Linked DNA regions of Homo sapiens: region 2 is linked to region 1. The links are contacts of gene promoters, found by promoter capture Hi-C in human tissues and cell types (Jung and others, 2019). All regions are on one chromosome and are shown on one strand. The core of a region is centred on a gene start or on the middle of the fragment in contact, and the rest is flanking DNA. Distances in the headings are between cores, read along the strand shown. Region 1 holds the start of KIF19 (kinesin family member 19). Region 2 has its middle 30 kb from the start of CD300LB.

Region 1 (7,319 bases), core at 3,878-6,377:
CATGCCTGTAATACCAACACTTTGGGAGGCTGAGGCGGGTGGATCTCTTGAAGCCAGGAGTTTGAGACCAGCCTGGCCAACATGACGAAACCCCATCTCTATTAAAAATACAAAAATTAGCCAGCGTGGTGGCGCCTTCCCGTAATCCCAGCTCCTCAAGTGGCAGAGGCATAATAAGAATTGCTTGAACCTGGGAGGCAGAGGTTACAATGAGCTGAGATCACGCCACTGCACTCCGGCCTGAGTGACAAAGCAAGACAGAGGAGAGAGAGAGGGGCAGAGAGAGAGAGACCGATCTAATCCAGTGGGATGCAGGCTGGCACCCCTGTATTTGTCAGGACTCTTGGTCACATGTTTAAGAAACCCATTCTAGCTAAAGCCAAGAAAGAATATTTGTTGGCTCAAGAAACTTGGAAGACCAAGGCTAACAGCTTCAGGTGTTGCTGGATCTAGCAACTCAGATGTTGTCATTTGGTATCTCTCTGCACAGCTTCTTTCTTTGCCTCAGTTTTATGAACTTCTGCTTTAGTGAAGCTGCTTTCATTGGATAAGGGGAGGGATTAGATATGACCCCACCCCCCGATTTTAGTCATTTCAGCCAGTAATCCCAAAGGCAGGAGAGAGCTCCTCCCTCCCAGTATAACAAAATTCCAGGGAAAGGCTCTGATTGGCCTAATGTGGGTCATAGCCCATCCCCTTGGACCAATCACTGTGACCACAGTCAAGTCTGGGTTGCATGCCTTCTGCCATGGCTGGGAGTGGAACAGGATGCTGTGATGGGCTCCATCAGAATGACATGGACTAGAGAAGAGGCAGTTCCCCCAAGGAAAGGGGAGGTGACACATAAGATGAGCTTGGAAGAAGGAGTTAGCCAGATAGATAAGTGGAAATGGAACTCCAGGACAGAGTGGCAGGAACAAAGCCCAGAGAGGAGAGAAGAGCTGCTCACGCAGAGGACTGCACTTGGTTGAGCACGGCCAGAGCAAGGGTGGTAGAAGGGGACGAGCCAAGAAGAGGCAGGGAAGGCTGCAACTACAGGCTAAAGAGCCGACCCCAAACAGAAGGCAATGGGGCACCATGGCAGGATTTCAAGTAAGGTCACGACACCCATCTGTCCTAGAGCAGTGAGGGAATGGAGTCAAACTGGAGGCAAAGAGACCACGCAGTGTACGTGGTCATCCAGATGAGAAACTGAAGTCCCAGGCTGCAGGCAGCAGTGATGGGAGTGGAGAGGAGGGACAGAAACGGGTTCCAGGGCAGGACCAGGATGCAGAGCGCATGGACTGAGCATACATCAAGTGCCTGGGTCTCTGCCCGTGCAGGGCTTACTTTGATTCAGGCTCTGTCAGGGCATAATGAGAGTTCTGTGGACCAGGAGAGGAGGGGTCTGATATGGAGGATGACGAGAAATTTGACAGAGGTAAGCTGGAAAGGGTGTACCAGGTTGGAGGACTGGCATGAGCAAAGGCCCCAGTGTAGGACCTGGCTCTAGCATACATTTGGGAATAAGCAAGTGGTGAAGGTGAGTGGAAGGCCGAGCCCACAGAGCAGAATGAGTTTAAATGAAGCCGGGCAGGAGGCTGAAAGGGGTTGTGGAGAGTAAAGTGTCTGCCTTTACTTCTGTGTTAGAGAACACAGGAGGTCTCTGCCTGTCAGATCGCTCCCCTTTCAAAGATCTCTGCCTGACAGATCTCTTCCCCTTTCAAAAGTGGGGCTGGGGCCAGGCACGGTGGCTCACACCTGTAATCCCAGCACTTTGGGAGGCCAAGGCAGGTGGATCACCTGAGGTCCGGAGTTCGAGACCAACCTGGCCAACATGGTGAAACCTCGTCTCTACTAAAAATACAAAAATTAGTCAGGCGTGATGGTGGGTGCTTGTAATCCCAGCTACTTGGGAGGCTGAGGCAGGAGAATCGCTTGAATCCGGAAGGCGGAGATTACAGTGAACCAAGATTGCGCCATTGCACTCCAGCCTGAGCGACAGAGCTAGACTTCATCTCAAAAAACAAACAAATAACAACAACAAAAACGGTGGGGCCAGGGCATAGCAAGAGGCCATGACATGGTCCAGGTGAGAAGGGGTAAAAACTGGAGCCCAGGGAATGGCAAGAGACGATGAAGAGAAGAAATATTTGCAGAAGTAGAATCTGCAGGAGTTGAATGTAGAAGATGAGAAAAAAAGATGCGGTAAAAAATGCCTTAAAGGCAATGGGTATAAAGGGGATGGTGGGCCGGGCGCGGTGGCTCACACCTAGAATCCCAGCACTTTGGGAGGCTGAGGCGGGTGGACCATGAGGTCAGGAGATCGAGACCATTCTGGCTAACACGGTGAAACCCCGTCTCTACCAAAAATACAAAAAATTAGCCGGGCGTGGTGGCGGGCGCCTGTAGTCCCAGCTACTCGGGAGGCTGAGGCAGGAGAATGGCGTGAACCCGCGAGGCGGAGCTTGCAGTGAGCCAAGATCGCACCACTGCACTCCAGCCTGGGCGAAAGAGCAAGACTCCGTCTCAAAATAAATAAATAAATAAAATAAAATAAAGGGGATGGTGGTTTAATTGACAAAACCCAAAAGTCAGGCAGAGGACATTGTTTGAGAATATACCTGACTTTGTGATGAGTCTTCGTGTAAGATGGGTGGGGACTTGTTACTTAGGAGCTTCTTATTTATTTATGTATTTATTTATTTATTCTTGAGATGGAGTCTCACTCTGACGCCCAGACTGGAGTGCAATGGCACGATCTCAGCTCACTGCAACCTCTGTCACCTGGGCTCAAGCAATTCTCCTGCCTCGGCCTCCCGAGTAGGTGGGATTACAGGTGCCTGCCACCATGCCTGGCTAATTTTTGTATTTTTAGTAGAGACGGGGTTTCACCATTTGGACAGGCTGGTCTTGAACTCCTGACCTCAACTGATCTGCCCGCCTTTGCCTCCCAAACTGCTGGGATTACAGGCATGAGCCACTGCGCCCAGCCAAGAAGCTTCTTATTTTTACCCATCAATCGCTATAGGCCCAGCGCAGTGGCTCACATTTGTAATCCCAGCACTTTGGGAGTCTGAGGCAGGAGGATTGCTTGAGCTCAGGAGTTTGAGACCCTGCCTCTACAACAATTAAAAAAAAAAAATGAGCCAGGCGTGATGGCATGCGCCTGTTGTCCCAGCTACTCCCAAGGCTGAGTTAGGAGAATCGCTTGAGCCCAGGAGGTTGAGGCTACAGTGAGCTGTGATGGCACCACTGCACTCTAGCCTGGGCCACAGAGTGAGACCCTGTCTTGAGGGGTGGGGAGGCAGAAGAAAAAAAAAGAGAAAGAGAGAAAGACCTTGTCTCAAAAATACAAAAACAAAAACAAAAAACACCCCACAAAAACAAAAATAACTATGGGGCATTCTGGGTGGGACTGATGCATGTGGAGGAACAGAAAAGAAAAAGAAAAATAGTGACAGCCCAGTTGACCAGGGGCCTGTTTGATTGATCCAAATAGGTTCTTTTCAGGAGCCTAAAATGCAAGCACAACACACCCCTAAAACTTACCCGATTCTCTTTCGAGAGGCTGAGGTGGGAGGATTGCTTGAGTCCAGGAGTTCAAAACCAGCCTGGACAGCACAGTGAGATCCCTGTCTCTACAAAATACAAAATGTTAGCCAGGCGTGGTGGTGCGCACCTGTAGTCTCAACTACTTGTGAGGCTGAGGCAGGAGGATCACTTGAGCCTGAGGGATTGAGGCTGCAGTGAGCCATCCATGATCGTGCCATTGTGCTTCTGCACTCCGGCCTGGGTGACAGAGTGAAACTCTGTCATAAAAAAACAGAAACAAAAACAAAAAACCCGACCCGATTCTTGTCACAGTATGCCCATTTGCAAACTGTCCAGCCTACAGCCTAGGCCAAGGAACAGGACAAAACCTGGGATCCCGGGCAGGAGAGTTTGGTTTCCACCAAGTTTTACTTGGTTTATCTATTTATTAAACCCAAGGCTGACGGCTGCTTCTTGCTGCTGTTTATTAATAACGATTCCCAACACAGGCTCCTCAGGGGCAGCCGGGGAAGCCAGTCCCAGGGCACAGGCTGGCATCACACTCTGCCTCTGAGGGACCCCAGGCAGTCTGAGGCAGCCCTGGGGACATGAGTGCTTCCTTTCCCAGCCCCTTCCCTGGAAAGTGAAACCCATCGTGGCTTCCTCTCCCAGTCTTGGGGCTGCCGGGCTCAGCTTCGGTGGGGGCAGAGGACACAGAGGATGGACATCAGAATTGGGAGAGGCTCCAACATCCCCCAGGAAACTGAGGCCCCAGGGAGGCAGGAAAAACCAGCTCCAGGTGGCTGGCCGAGTTGGAGGCGGAACTGGGACCAGAATCCAAGTTTTCCCAGGGCCTCCTGAGGACAGGAACCTTTCCCCTGTGTTCCCTGGGAGTGCAACCGTTGTTATTGTCGCCAAGAATGGAGGCGGTAGCGTCAGACCTAGACTTTCTTGCACAGTATTGTGGCTCTTCCAGCAGCAGGCGGGGAGCCAGCAGGGCACACGGACCCAGCCATCGTGACCTAGATTCTGGGTTCAGGGGTAGAGACTTGTTTGCTAGTGGGTCGCACTGAGTCAGGCTCTTCTGTAGCACACCCCAGGTAACAGAGGTGCTGGGCGGCCTGAGCAAAGGGACAACTTTTTGCCACCCATGCCAGTGGGCAGTGGGTGCAGACACTCACAGCACAGGCACCTGCTGCGATGCACGCGGCGCCCACGGAAACCCGAGGCTGCCAGCCGCCGCCCTGGAGACCCCAGAGACAGCGGCAGATGCGTGTGCTTCAAGGGGCAGCGTGGCTGCTGGGGCGCTCCCTAAAGGGCAGTGGCACGGGGTCGCGCCGCGAGCAGAGGGGCGCGGGTGGGCGCGCAGGAGTTAGCGAACTGACACGGAGGCGCCAGGCGGACGCACGGACGCACCGAGGGCCGCAGGGCCGCACAGCCGGGCACACATCGTCGCGCAGCGGTTCAGGCTCGGGGGCCTCCTCGGCGGAGGCGGCCAACTCTCACCCTCAGCGCGGGGAGGGGCGGGCGCCGGGGGCGGGGCGGCGCCGTCCGGGCCCTCCCCCTGCCCCGCCTCGGGTCGGCGTCCTTAGCCGCTGGCGCGTTGTTGGTTTCGGGTTGTCAGGCAGCGCGCGAGGCGGCGGGCAGCTAGCAGCTGGCGGACGCGACCCGGAGGCGGTGGGGGTGCGGCTGAGCCATGCCCGGTGGCGCGGCCTGAGCCCCTCCACCTGCTGCAATCATGAAGGACAGCGGGGACTCCAAGGACCAGCAACTCATGGTGAGACCCTTTTAGACCCTCCTCCCCACCCCGCTCCGTGGTCTACTTCAGTCGGCCTCCAGCGACAGAGTCCTGTCCCCTCGCCGCCACCCCACTGAGAGGACAGGCAACGACCAGGGCCGGGACTCTTCAGAGCAACTTTCCCCAAGTCCTGCAGGATGGGTGTCAAGAAGGGACCATGGCCTTTTTAGACTTTCCTGAGCCTGAAAATTACCCCAACTTCAACCCCACCCCCACCTTTCCACCCTCCCATTGGGAGATCCCGCCCCCAAAGCGTGCGCAGATGAATCTCGGCTCTCTCATCCAGAAACGCCAGGGGCAGGGAGGGCTTGACCTAACTGCCCCCAGAAGGAGGGTGGCGGTTTCCCAGTTAATCAGAGGCTGCTCCAGCCCTGGTGAGGTCAGGAGTTTAAAGGGATGTGGGGGTCACCAGTAGGAAGACAAGGGCCCCTGGTGTCAGGATGGGGCCCGGAGTGCCTGGTTCTTGGGCTGCAACACGGATGCTGCCCAAGTCCGGATTCGAAGTAGTTCAGAGAAGTGCTAGATGCAGCTACCATGGCCCCACAGAGCCCTGGGGCCTGGGACAGATGGGGAGGTGAGAGTGGGGGCTGTGGAGGGGAAGGTGGAATTCCTGATCATCAGTGGTGCCTGGGCCAGAGCAACAAGGGAGATGACTCAGTGACCTCGAGGCCACCACTAGGCTGTGGGTGGGTGGGTGTCTCTCTCAGCAAGCCCCTTCCTCATCCCCTAATTTTTGAGGTCTGGGGAAGGGCCCTCATCACCAGAAGGTGGGCAGTAAGGTAACTGGAGGATAATGTTGCTCCCAGAGTCCCCTACCTCTCAAGGGTGGGCTTGCTTCTCTGAAAGGAGCCTCAGCTCCAGCCCCCAAGCAAGCCCTGGGCTCTAGGACATCCTCTCTGGCTTTTTAGAATGTGTCTCTTTGAAAATCACTGGCCTTGGCATGTATTGTGTGCCCCGGGGAGCAGGGATGAAGGGTCCTCCCCTCCCGCCAGTGGAATTTGGCTGAAGATGCCACTAAAGGTGACCCGTCAGGTAGTGTAGTTCCCTCTGAAAGTGCCTTTTGTTTTGTTTTGTTTTGTTTTTCTTTTTTGAGACGGAGTTTCACTTTCTCACCCAGGCTGGAGTGAAGTGGTGCGATCTCAGCTCACTGCCCCTCAAGTTCAAGCGATTCTCCTGCTTCAGCCTCCCGAGTAGCTGGGATAACAGGCATGCACCACCACGCCCAGCTAATTTTTGTATTTTTAGTAGAGACGGTGTTTCGCCGTGTTGGCCAGGCTGGTCTCGAACTCCTGACCTCAGGATCCGCCCACCTCGGCCTCCTAAAGTGCTGGGATTACAGGCGTGAGCCACCACGCCAGGCCTGAAGGAGTCTTCACTCGGCCAGAGGGCCGTTCATTCTATCCCCACACCCAGCAGCTGTTGCCCTTTGATCAGCACAAGACGTGCTCCCCACTCCACCCTGTTCTTTAGGGAGATCCACGCACAGGATGAGACCCATTTCACACTGGCTGGAGGACAGGCAGATGGGGGTGGGCGCTCTAGGTGACACTCTCCTCGGTGTAGGAATGTGGTCACAGGCTGTTGGGATGATGGGGGACATTCCCTGCTCCATCCCACCTACCAGGCCTCATCCCAGAGCCGTGCCTGCACCTTCCTCTGCAGCACGTCATTCGCGGAAACACAGAGAGGCTGCTCCAGTGCCAGGGCCCCAAGTTCAAGCCCAGGGGAGCTGCGAGTGTTTTATTTGGGCGTGAGGCTGAGGCAGGCTGGAGGAGCAGACAGCTCTCTCCCCTGGGGCTCTCCCGGAGGCCAGGGCTCCTGGGGAGACTCATCAACTCAGACACAGTCCAACACTCTGTGGACCTGCTGCCCTCTGACCTAGGTAGAGTTTTACTTAGGACAAGGGAGGCCTGAGATGGCTGAATGCTAGAGAAGCCAGGGGCTTGCTTGAGGTCTCTCTGAGGCCCAGCATGGTCCTCTCCCTCTAATCCCAGGGGCTTGGTTTTCC
Region 2 (6,760 bases), core at 1,605-4,104, 180 kb after region 1:
GGATTTGGGTGCAATTTATTCTCCTATCAGCCTGGTATGGAAATATCCTTCAGCATATCCCATGGCCAACATTGGGAATGGTGCCTTTAAAAAAATGATTTAAACTTCTGCCAATTACAAATAAATAGTTCTCATTGCTTTTAAATAAATACCATTAATTCTGGCCGGGTTCTGTGGCTCACGTCTGTAATCCTGGCACTTTGAGAGGCCAAGGCAGGCAGATCACTTGAGGCCAGGAGTTTGAGACCAGCCTGGACAACATGGTGAAACCCCGTCTCTACTAAAAATACAAAAAGTTAGCCAGGCATGGTGGTGCATGCCTGTAATCCCAGCTACTCGTGAGGCTGAGGCAGGAGAATCGCTTGAGCCCAGGAGGCGGAGGTTGCAGTGAGCCAAGATCATGCCGCTGCACTCCAGCCTGGGTGACAGAGCGAGACTCCATCTCAAAAACAAACAATCAACAATAACAACAAAAAGAATAACATTAATTCAGAAAAGTGTGTATCGTTCCATATCCAGATGATGTCTCTTAACACACACACAAAAAGAAAAGTAAAAATTATTTAATTAGCCAGGCGCGGTGGCAAGCTCCCATAATCCCAGCTACTGGGGAGGCTGAGGCAGGAGAATTGCTTGCACCTGGGAGGCAGAGGTTGCAGTGAGCCGAGATCGCGCCATTGCACTCCAACCTGGGTGACAGAGCAAGACTCCATCTCAGGACAAAAAAAAAAAAAAATTTTAAACCCATGTGCAATGGACAGAAAATTAAAACAGTACAGGAAGTTATAAAATTAACAAAAAAGTCTCCTTCCTCCTACCCTACCCCTAGTACCATTCCACAAAAGTGACTACTGTTAGCCATTTCTTACACAGCTTTCAGAAAACTTATTATTATTTCAAAATTATTTTCAAAAGGGCTAATCCAGGCGCAGTGGTTCACATTTGTAATCCCAGCACTTTGGGAGGCCGAGGCAGGCGGATCACCTGAGGTCAGGAGTTCAAGACCAGCCTGGCCAACTTGGTGAAACCCTGTCTCTACTAAAAATACAAAATTAGCCAAGTGTGGTGACACACACCTGTAATCCCAGCTACTTGGGAGGCTGAGGAAGGAGAATCGCTTGAGCTCAGGAGGCAGAGGTTGCAGCGAGTCAAGATCGCGCCACTGCACTCCAGCATGGGCGACACAGCAAGACTCCATCTCCAAAAAAAGTGGGGGGAGGGGCTCATAATTCTTCATACCTCACTTTTGCATATGTCCTAGAGACCTTGTTATACAAGTACACACAAATCTACCTCATTCTTTTATATGTGATTCCACAGTTTTAATTCATTCCGTTATTTACTCATTTACTTGATGACTTTTATTGAATACCTACTATATACCATGGAGCTATACAGCAGAGACATAGCAGTGAAGAAGATAAATGAGGCCCCTTCTGTCTGGTCCTTGTATCTTAGTGGGCAGTAGACAGAACAAACAAAACAAAAGCAAGCTTCGTTCAGATCATCACAGAACTGCTGTGTGAAGATCTGAATTGTGTACAGCTGAGAGTGATGAGAGGCAGGAAGGGCTGCTTGCATAGGGAGGTCATGGAGGGACTTCCTGACATTTGAGCTGAGACTTGAGAAGGAGCCAGCCACACAATAATATAGAGTGAGAGCATTCCTGGCAGAGGAAACAGCTCAGGCAAAGGCTCTAAGGGGGAACAAGGCTAGTGTGTCCCAGGCTTAGGGTGCCGGCCAGATGAGTACAGAGTAGACAATGTGGGGAGCTTGGTGGGAGGCAGACGCAGAAAGGCAGAGGCAGGCAGTGGTCAGATCAGGGAAGGGTTAATACGCAAATGTGTGGATTTTGTCCTAAGTGGAAACTCTGAAAAATTTCAAGCAAGGGAGTCACACAATGGCACCTTGGAATGGGGTGGTGGATGTGGCCATTGGAGAAGGTGGACAAGCTCAGAATGCATTCTGGCCGTAGAGCCAACCCAACAGGCTGAAGGATTGGATGTGGGAGGGAGTGAAAAGAAAGGAATAAAAATTGCAGGTGACTTCTACGGTTTTCACTTGAGCAATTGGGAGGGCAGTAAAGGTGGGTCCCTTTACGGAAATGGAAAGACTAAGAGAGCAGCAGTTTTGGGGTGGAATTGGGGAGAGGAAACAGGGACTCTGTTGGGCGTACAGATGCTCAAATAAAGATGACAAGCCCCCTATTGGCTGTATGAGTCAGGCGCTGGGGGAGGGACTGGAGCTGTAGGTGCACAATGCATGCCGATGTATCTGTGTGTCATACAAGGCCCCATGTATGACTGCGTGTGTATACACATGCACAGATGCACACATTGTTATGTCATCCCAGACCATGTTTTTGTATTTTTGTACCTGTATCTTGGTATATATCTGAGTATATCTTTTTTTTTTTTTTTTTTTTTTTTTTTTGAGACAGAGTCTTGCTCTGTTGCCCAGGCTGGAGTGCAGTGGTGTGATCTTGGCTCACTGCAACCTCTGTCTCCCGGGTTCAAGCGATTCTTCTGCCTCAGCCTCCCAAGTAGCTGGGACTACAGGCGTGCACCACCACACCCAGCTAATTTTTGTATTTTTAGTAGAGATGGGGTTTCACCGTGTTGGCCAGGCTGGTCTCGATCTCCTGACCTCGTGATCTGCCCACTTCAGCCTCCCAAAGTGCTGGGATTACAGGCGTGAGCCACCACGCCTGGCCTATCTGAGTATATCTTTAGGAGAAATTTCCAATAGTGGAGCATTAGTCAAAAGGTCCATGAATTGACTTTTTTTTAATAGATCTTGACAAATTTTCCTTCAAAAAGCTCTTGCCCACTGTCATGCCAAGCGTCAGGTTCCAGCCCATGTTGAGGTCTGAGGGGAGTGGGTGGATGGGTGGCGAATAGCGGAAGGAATATTTAGGGGGCTGTAGGCAGGTAAAATATGGTTTTATTCAGCAGCTTTTTCATCAGCAGTTTTTTTTATATACTTTAAGTTCTAGGGTACATGTGTACAATGTGCAGGTTTGTTACATAGGTATATATGTGCCATGTTGGTTTGCTGCACCCATCAGCTCGTCATTTACACTAGGTATTTCTCCTAATGCTATCCCTCCCCCAGCCCCCCACCCCTTGACAGGCCCCGGTGTGTGATGTTCCCCACCCTGTGTCCAAGTGTTCTCATTGTTCGATTCCTACCTATGAGTGAGAACATTCGGTGTTTGGTTTTCTGTCCTTGTGATAGTTTCATCAGAAGCTTTCTCATACAATTCACCTTTATCTCGGCTGCCTGCTCCAGCTTTGCGGCTCTTGCCATTCCCAGGCTTACAGCTGCATTCCCTGGCCTACAAGCCTGGCTCTCCCTTATGGGGTCAGCAGTTTTACTCTCTGCCTCTGGGCACAAGCCATGCCGAACCACATGTACAGCGTCAGCAGGGCAGTTATACCTTTTACAGACAATAGTGGCTCTGAGCCACTTACACAAACAGATTACATAACAAGTGGAGTTATGCGCCTGCGCGCCAGACTCCCTGAGTCACGCTGGCCCTGATGTTTGCCTCTGCCTGTTTTGTTTTTGTTTTTGTTTTTGTTTTTTGAGACGGAGTTTCGCTCTGTCGCCCAGGCTGGAGTGCAATGGTGCAATCTCGGCTTACTGTAACCTCCGCCTCCCAGGTTCAAGCGATTCTCCTGCCTCAGCCTCCCGAGCCACCACACCCAGCTATTTTTTTTTTTTTTTTGTATTTATAGTAGAGATGGGGTTTCACCATGTTGGCCAGGCTGGTCTCAAACACCTGACCTCTGGTGATCCACCCGCCTCAGCCTCCCAAAGTGTTAGGATTGCAGGCGTGAGCCACCGCACCTGGCTAACCTATTCTTGACCAAAGCACATCCATGTACCTTACACCCACTTACCTTCCCATCAAGAACACTCAACGATGTCCCTTTCCCTACACTCTCGCCAGTATTGGATATTTTCACACTCTATTTTCTTTTCAATCTGATAGAAGAAAATAATATCTTATAATTTTCAGAATTTGCATTCCTTTATTTGCCATTTTAGTTTTTTTCCTGTGAACTATCCATTTGCCCATTTTGCCATTGAGCTTTTAATCTATCTTACTGAGTTCCTCCGAGTGCTTTGTAAATTAAGAAAATAAGCTCTCTGTCAAATTGCCTGCAACATTTCCTTCATAGCTTGTCATTTTTTAAAAAACTTTCAAAGGTGTTTTCACCCAGTGATGTTTCATCTTTTTTCTGAGGTCAGATTTCTCAATCATTTGCTTTATAAAGTTTGAGTTTTCCTTAGGATGCTCCATTTCAAGAGTCTAATAAATTCACCCATTATTCTAAAACTTTTGTAAATTTCATTTTATATTTTCAGTTTATTCTAAAACTTGCAGTTTTCAGTTTATTCTAAAACTTTTAAATAGTCTAAGACTTTAGAAAGATTTCAGTTTATTCTAAAACTTGTGTAGTTTCTTCGTATTTAAATCTTTGATCCATTTGAAACTATTTTGGCTTACAGAGTGCGGTATGAACAGAACTTGAGTTTGTATAAGACTTAGCCAGCTGTCTCTACATCACTGATTGAGTAACCCCTCGTGTCCCATGCATAGTCCTAGGCGCCACTGTGCTGGATCAGAAGCGAAGGGAGAAGGTTAAGTGACTCACTCAGTATTTGACCACAACACTGCTTAGCTCAAAAGTCCACCTTGCTGCCCCCTTTTAGTTAAAATGAGCCTGTTAGTGAGACCCTTGATTTTTTTAGCTTTTTTTATTTTTAGTTTTTCTGGGTCATAGTAGGTGTATATATTTATGAGGTGCCTCGGGAGCATTCTGGACCATCACAGACGCTTTGGGTAACTCTTACATTGGAGGGTAAGCCCATCCCCTTCTTAATCAATACGGAGGCTACCCACTCCACATTACCTTCTTTTCGAGGGCCTGTTTCCCTTGCCTCCATAACTGTTGTGGCTATTGACGACCAGGCTTCTAAACCTCTTAAAGCTCCCCAACTCTGGTGCCAACTTGGACAACATTCTTTTATGCACTCCTTTTTAGTTATCCCCACCTGCCCAGTTCCCTTATTAGGTGAGGCATTTTAACTAAATTGTCTGCTTCCCTGACTATTCCTGGGCTATAGCCACACCTCATTGCTGCCCTTTTCCCCAGTTTAAATCCTCCTTCGCATCATCCCCTTGTGTCTCCCTACCTTAATCCACAAGTATAGGACACCTCTACTCCCTCCTTGGTGACCGATCATGCACCCCTTACCATTCCATTAAAACCTAATCACCCTTACCCCGCTCAACACCAGTATCCCATCCCACAGCACACTTTAAAAGGATTAAAGCCTGTTATCACTGGCCTGCTACAGCATGGCCTTCTAAAGCCTATAAACTCTCCTTGCAATTCCTCCATTTTACCTGTCCAAAACCCGGAAAAGTCTTACAGGTTAGTTCAGGATCTGCACCTTATCAACCAAATTGTCTTGCCTATCCACACCGTGATGCCAAACCCATATACTCTCCTATCCTCAATACCTCCCTCCACAACCCATTATTCTGTTCTAGATAAATGTAGCTGACCCCATAGATCCTAAATCCTTTCCCCACTCCTCTTTCCATTCCTTAAAAAACTCATCCCAACCCTTTTCATTACACACAGCTGAAGTACAGGACTGTGTGGTCGGAATTCTTACACAAGAGCTGGAACCACGCCCTGTAGTCTTTCTGTCCAAACAACTTGACCTTACTGTTTTAGCCTAGCCCTCATGTCTGCGTGCAGCGGCTGCCACTGCTTTAATATTTTAGAGGCCCTCAAAATCACAAACTATGCTCAACTCACTCCGTACAGTTCTCATAACTTCCAAAATCTATTTTCTTCCTCCCACCTGATGCATATACTTTCTGCCCTCCGGCTCCTTTGGCTATACTCACTCTTTGTTGAGTCTCCCACAGTTACCATTGTTCCTGGCCCAGACTTCAATCCAGCCTCCCACATTATTCTGGATACCACACCTGACCCCCATGACTCTATCTCTCTGATCCACCTGACATTTATTCCATTTCCCCATCTTTCCTTCTTTCCTATTCCTCACCCTGATCACACTTGGTTTATTGATGGCAGTTCCACCAGGCCTAATCACCACTCATCAGCAAAGGCAGGCTATGCTATAGTATCTTCCACATCTATCATTGAGGCTACTGCTCTGCCCTGCTCCACTCCCTCTCAGCAAGGCGAACTCATTGCCTTAACTCAGGCCCTCACTCTTGCAAAGGGACTACGCGTCAATATTTATACTGACTCTAAATATGCCTTCCATATCCTGCACCACCATGCTGTTACATGGGCAGAAAGAAATTTCCTCACTACACAAGAGTCCTCCATTATTAATGTGTCCTTAATAAAACCTCTTCTTAAAGCTGCTTTACTTTCAAAGGAAGCTGGAGTCATTCGCTGCAAGGGCCATCAAAAGGCATCAGATCCCATTGCTCAGGGCAACTCTTATGCTGATAAGGTAGCTAAAGAGGCAGCTAGTTTTCCAACTTCTGTCCCTGATGGCCAGTTTTTCTCCTCATTGGTCACTCCTATTTACTGTCCCACTGAAGTTTCCACCTATCAATCCCTCTCCACTCAAGGCAGATGGTTTTTAGACAAAAAAAAAATCTCCTTCAAGCCTCACTAGCCCATTCTATTCCTGTCGTCATTTCATAACCTCTTCCATGTAGGTTACAAGCCATTAGCCCGCCTCTTAAAAACTCTCA

The links. The method cuts DNA at HindIII sites, captures the fragments that hold promoters and counts their contacts. A contact is called where the count stands out against the background at its distance.
Region 2: a contact is called between a fragment that was not itself captured here and the fragment with the promoter of KIF19 in region 1, in 2 of the 25 tissues and cell types used here (small bowel and stomach).

What each region holds. Positions count from the first base shown.
Region 1 is chr17:74,321,099-74,328,417 of GRCh38, forward strand. It overlaps KIF19 (kinesin family member 19), which reads left to right and starts at 5,128. Exons shown (of 20, transcript NM_153209.4): 1 at 5,128-5,290. The coding sequence starts at 5,252. RefSeq lists a silencer at 4,943-5,162 and an enhancer at 7,293-7,319. The HindIII fragment of the contact is 22,604 bases long and covers 1-7,319 here.
Region 2 is chr17:74,498,438-74,505,197 of GRCh38, forward strand. No RefSeq gene overlaps it. Among named protein-coding and RNA genes, the nearest start is that of CD300LB, 30 kb to the right of the region's middle. The HindIII fragment of the contact is 5,799 bases long and covers 1-5,754 here.